Linked DNA regions of Homo sapiens: region 1 is linked to region 2. The links are contacts of gene promoters, found by promoter capture Hi-C in human tissues and cell types (Jung and others, 2019). All regions are on one chromosome and are shown on one strand. The core of a region is centred on a gene start or on the middle of the fragment in contact, and the rest is flanking DNA. Distances in the headings are between cores, read along the strand shown. Region 1 overlaps LOC105370452 (a long non-coding RNA gene). Region 2 holds the start of NKX2-1 (NK2 homeobox 1).

Region 1 (2,785 bases), core at 131-2,630, 460 kb before region 2:
AACTAAATTTCAGAATTAAAAGGGTACTGTTTTTTAAAAAGTAGTGAGCCTCCTAACACAGGAAGCATGCAAGTAAAAAACTGCATGTCTATGTCTTAGGGATGTTTTAGAGAGGATCCCTTCCACCACCAAGAGTTTCGTATTATTTCTGTTATTGTGTTAAGTGATGGTCTAATATGATAAAATACAAGTAATCTATTTTGGAAAGGAGACATAGATACAATTATTGAAAAGCACAATAGAGAAAAAGATTGCATCTATATTATTGTTATATAACCATATGCCAATATGTCTAGTACATAGTATTAGAAAATGTGTCAGGGTGTAATAAGTAACTTTTTAGAATGCCCTATGCAGAATGTAGAAGCAAATCTGAATTAAAAATGCAGAAACTGAAGAGGACTGGAGTCATTAGGGAAGGCTTCATGGGCAGCTGGTTCTTTAACAGGGCCTTGGAAAAGGTTAGAATGAGGACAGGCAAAGGGGAAGTCCCTCCAGGGAGGACTGTGCAGGAGTATTAGTGGGAGGAGGTGTTGGGAGGAGGCAGGATGATTGGCCTCACTCAGGGTCTCTGTACGTATGTGCTTTGCACAGCGAAGATGGGAACAATCAATGGTCATTTGAGGAAATGACACACACTTAAATCCCTCTTGTCTGAAATCCTGCAGTATCCTGAGTTCCATTGGCCTGCGGGCTGAGAGACCTGGGAGTCCCAGCTGGGTTCCTAACTAGCTGTTTGGTCAGACACATCACTTAACCACCCTGAGCCTTATTTTTCTCAATTATAAGCCAAGACAGTTGGTTAAATCAGTGCTTCTTAAACTTTAATGTGCAAATGGAGAGATTGTTAAAATGTAGCTCTGATTTCATGGGTCGGGGCAGGGCTTGAGACTCTGCATTGCTAACAGGCTCAAAGGCGATGGCGATGGTAGGGTCAGCAGACCACCCTTTGAGCGGTAAGGGGTTGTATGACTTACGTGCCTCCGTGATATGAGCACTCTACAAACTAGTTTTAATTATGGTCTCATACTTTTTTTTTTTTTCATAGTTGTTTTCTTATTAGGTAATACGATTGAGAAGTATCTAGCACAGAGCTGAGTCCACAGTGGGTACTCAGTAACATTTGTTTATTCACGTCAAGTTTCTCCCTTGGATACTCTGCTTACCTTAGAAATGCAGTCGTTTTTGTTCAGTCCTGCATTTCAAACATGTAGTGCAGGTTCAGCAAATCTAATAAAACTCAAAGAAAAATCTCAGTGCTTTTTAGATCTCTTCTCTTATCTCATGACTCCTGTTTCTTCCAGTAGGAAAGGAAGTAATGTGCTGTCTAAATATCTGATTGTTGTGTTGCTTTAGGGAAAAACAATTAGATTGCCTTGCCATTTGCCAAATAGATGGAATGAAGGTTTCACTCCATTAACACTCATTCCATGAGTCATTCTAAATTCTTGACAGTATGCCAATAAACCCCAGTTAATTCACCAAAATTGCCGCTGGTAGCATTTTGCCTCTGCAGGTAACCAGCAGCACTGTAATCACTTACTCCACAAAGATAATGAGGTTGTATGGTTTTTATTTATGCTACCAATTTGTTTTAATATTGTTATTGTTCCTTTTATAGTAAGGCAGATTGGTCTCTGTCTTAAAGGACTGAGAAAGAAGGGATATTAAGGTTCCCAAACTGAATGTAAGTATTAATATTGAAAATAGTATTATTGTTTTTTGGACTGACAGTAGTAATTTAGAAGTGTTCTCAAGAGGTTGTATTGATTGAATATATACTTATTTGATTCTTCAAGATTTTTACCAGACTCCAGTTGGCTTCTAACAAAAGGTTTATACAGATAATGAGATTCCTTCCAGTTCTAAAACACTATAACCTCATGAAATATGACCAAGAGTAATGTACACACAGGACAATTTACACTTGGAAAATGAAGTCGAGCAAGTTGTTCCTGAGGTTTTTTGCTTGCCAACTAATGTAAGACAATATCATTGAAAAGAAAGAAGAGAAAATACAGATACAAGCATTTGTCCTTCAGGGTAATCTAATAACTCAGTAATAAGAATCTGTCACACAAATTTGGTATGAAATCTCTGCAAATTAGAGAAATCCATTACAACAATCAATCTAATAGAATATCAACATACCTCTGAATTTGTTTTGTAAAGAAATATGCTGTCTGTACCCAAGCCATATTTAAGGGTTATTCCATAGTTTATTTTGGTTGAGAAAAACTAATTTGAGTCACTAGACTTTAGATAAGTGTCAGAAGTCCATATTTAACTCGTTTAGGCAAAAGGGATATTTAATGGAAGGATCTTGGGGTAGCCGACATGACTGAAAGAAGAGTAGGATGACCAAGTCACCAGCCGGGCAGGAAGGAATGCAGTGGGGCCTCAGGAACCCTCAAACCAGGAACCAGCTTGTCAGGACTTTGTCTCTCTTTTTGGTTTTTACTTCTCTTGGTGCCGGCTCTATTTTCTCCCACTGCAGACCAGCTTTCTCCACTTGGCAGTTAATGGGGCTGTTGACACCTTGCATGGGAGTTCTTTTACAACTTCTTCTATCAGAGAGACAGACTGACTCTCCCAGATTAATTTTTTTAAAAGGCTAGGGGAGAACTCTGGGTGGCCGGGTCAGGTGGCTGCTCAGCCTTGGATGCCAGCTGTGTCTAGGAGGGCACGATCAGGTAAGAACATGCCACATTTTCCTGTAACCACATGGTTGGAGTTGGGAAGGGGGAAATTAATTGAACATGAGGGAGGAATACATTTGCTAAAA
Region 2 (2,700 bases), core at 199-2,698:
CGCTACCAAGTGCCTGTTCTTGGACCCCCAGCCGAGCAGGGGGAAGCATCCCCAGCTCCCGCACCCAAGTCCCTGGCGCCGCTGCCGGGCCGCCCTCCCTGATGCCCAGCGCGCAGCCTGCCGGCGCCGCGCCTTCTGGACGGCTCTCGCCGCACCTCCTGAGCTCAGCCCGCGGCCCCGCAGTGGGGCGGCCTCACTTACTGGCGGGGAAGCGCGGGTCTGGGTTGGCGCCGTACCATCCGGGGCCAGAGGCGCTGTTCCTCATGGTGTCCTGGTACGGCGGCAGCTCGCTCATGTTGCCCAGGTTGCCGTTGCAGTAGCCCCCCACGGCGGAGTGCGAGAGCTGGGGCACCCCCGCCGCCGTCATGTGGTAGGCGGCGGTGACGGCGCCGTGGTGCCCCACGGCGTGCTGCTGCATGGCCGCTGTTGGCGGTGCCGCCTGGCCCTGCCTGTACGCCGCCAGCGGAGCCCCGAGGCCGCCGCCCTCCATGCCCACTTTCTTGTAGCTTTCCTCCAGGGGACTCAAGATGTCAGACACTGAGAACGGAGTCGTGTGCTTTGGACTCATCGACATGATTCGGCGGCGGCTGGAGGAGGAAGGAAGAGGAGGAAAAAAAAGGGAGAGGGGGAAGGCGAAGCCTCGCTGCTTTTTTTTTCTCCCTTTGCCAAATATTCTGGTGTTACCTTAACGCCGATCTTGTTGGATGTACACGTAACGGAGTGGACCGAGTCCTCCTTAATTGGCTTGAGTGGAGGCTCGGGGGCTGCCTCGCGTTTGTTTTAGCCCGGCGCCAGGTTTTAGGCAGCCACCAGAGGCGGGGCGTAAGCGCTAAAGCAACAAGACAATAGAAGCCTACATCTTGCCCGAGATAATTAGCTTACATGCTGATGACAAGGTAAACACCTTTAAGTTTCACTTGTCAGGATTTTTAGGTCTCAAAGAGAGAGAGAGAGAGGCAGAGACGAGACCCAAAGCATTTCCCCCCTCCCTTGGACACCCCCACCCCCATTTTTTGTGGGGTACCAGCGGAGCGCGGGGAGGAGGTGGAGGGGAGGGGAAGGAGGAGGGAACCGAGAGCGGGGAGGGCAGGAGGTGGGGTGGGGGAGTAACAGAGGAGGAGAGATGGTTGAGAGGAAGGAAGGTGAATGCTGCTTTGCAACCAACTTGCGGAGTTACAAAGTGGAACCACTTTCCAATTCGGTCGGGGTTCCCCGGGCACGGACAGGTCTTTAGGAGGAGGGGGCTGAGGGACAGGGTGGGGGTTTCACCTGAGCCTGCCGGGGCTGCTCCTCCCTCCCGCCGCGGCCTCCCAGCCCCGCGCCTTCCCACTGCCTCCGGACCACATCGGGCTTCGCTGCGCTGAGCCCCAGTCGCCAACAAATGAGCGAGCGAGTCTGGGGACGAACCCTGGGGCCGCACTGTTGGTCTACGTGTCTGTCAGTCTGTCTGCCTCTCTTCTGCCGCCGTCAGAGGGACACCTCTGCTCCCCGCCCCCTTTCCCCCTACCGGAGAGAATCCGAGCGGGCGGAGGGGGCGCTGAGTAGGGGATCGACTGCCTCCCGGAGGCTGTCCCGGATCCCCGAGCCACAACCCGCCCCCGCAGCTCAGGGGTTTTTCAGTGGGCCACCCCCGCTAACACGCCTCCCCCAAGGTCTTCCCCCCCCCCCCCCACCCCCGGCCGAGCAAACACAGCACTGGCCCCCAGAGCTGGGAGGATGGGAAGGGGTCTCACGGGAGGGTCCGTCACTGAAGTTGCCCCACCTCGAACAAACCTGGTGTCCCTGACCCTCGCCCATCTCCCAGACACGCGGGGATCTGGGGCTGGAGCTGACTTTCCGAGGACATCACAGCCCCAGCACCCGAGCCCAGAGCCACGCTGTTTTCCCCTCTGATGCTTCAGGGAGCGCGCGAGCAGGGAGCGGCGTGAGTGCCCGTCTGTCTGTTGCCGGGCGGAACTGAGCCTGAACCCCGGCGGCTGGAGCGCTGGCCAGGAGGGGGCGAATGCCGAGGTGCGGGCAGCTCAGCGGGCGGGAGGCTGGGCCGAGGCTCGCCTCCGCCCGCAGCTCAGCCATGCAAAAGTGCTCTTGCTTCCCGGGAATAACCAAATATCTTTGTTTAAAGTGGTGGCGTAAATGGCCAGTCGCTTTGTGGCCACGCTGGATATTAGTAGATGAGGATCATTCTGCTTCAATTGGGCGCCTCTCATCCGACGAGCAAGAAACTGCTTAGGAGGAAGAGGGTTTCCTGTCTGCGCGTTCCCAGGCTTCAAGTGTGGGCCCCGCGCCTTGAGGGTCCTTGGGCGCCTGGCGAGGGGGAGCTGTGGGCTGCGCTCCCCAGCGGAATCGGGGGTGTCCCCCGCGTTGCTCCGGCCAGGCCGGGGCCTGCAGCCGAGTCGACTACCGAGTGGAGCACTGAACGGCGCGGATTTTGAGACCGACTCCGGTTTTTGTCCTTGGATTTTAAACGTTTTTATCATTGTTTTTGTTTTGCTTTCTCCTTAGCTGTTTTAGTCTCCTCTGCGCGCCAGGGGCTGGGAGGGCGGAGCGCTCCCCGGCCGGCCCCGGCAGGTGCCTCCAAGACACCCGCGCTGGTCAAGGAGCTTCTTGAATTTAGTTTTTGTTTTCACATTTTCTTTCCCCTCCTTGTAGAGAAGGAGCTCCTGATCATGACGAACAGGCAGTTTTGAGCTACTTAATTCA

What was found. The method cuts DNA at HindIII sites, captures the fragments that hold promoters and counts their contacts. A contact is called where the count stands out against the background at its distance.
Region 1: a fragment that was not itself captured here is called in contact with the fragment with the promoter of NKX2-1 in region 2 in 1 of the 25 tissues and cell types used here (dorsolateral prefrontal cortex).

The regions. Positions count from the first base shown.
Region 1 is chr14:36,056,523-36,059,307 of GRCh38, forward strand. The region is part of intron 1 of LOC105370452 (a long non-coding RNA gene); the gene reads right to left. Among named protein-coding and RNA genes, the nearest start is that of LINC00609, 13 kb to the right of the region's middle. The HindIII fragment of the contact is 4,747 bases long and covers 1-2,785 here.
Region 2 is chr14:36,518,784-36,521,483 of GRCh38, forward strand. It overlaps NKX2-1 (NK2 homeobox 1), which reads right to left and starts at 1,449. Exons shown (of 3, transcript NM_001079668.3): 1 at 1,270-1,449; 2 at 202-587. The coding sequence starts at 1,346. It overlaps SFTA3 (surfactant associated 3), which reads right to left and starts at 773. Exons shown (of 5, transcript NR_161365.1): 1 at 685-773. It overlaps NKX2-1-AS1 (NKX2-1 antisense RNA 1), which reads left to right and starts at 495. Exons shown (of 2, transcript NR_103710.1): 1 at 495-896. RefSeq lists enhancers at 865-1,864, 1,865-2,700. The HindIII fragment of the contact is 7,239 bases long and covers 1-2,700 here.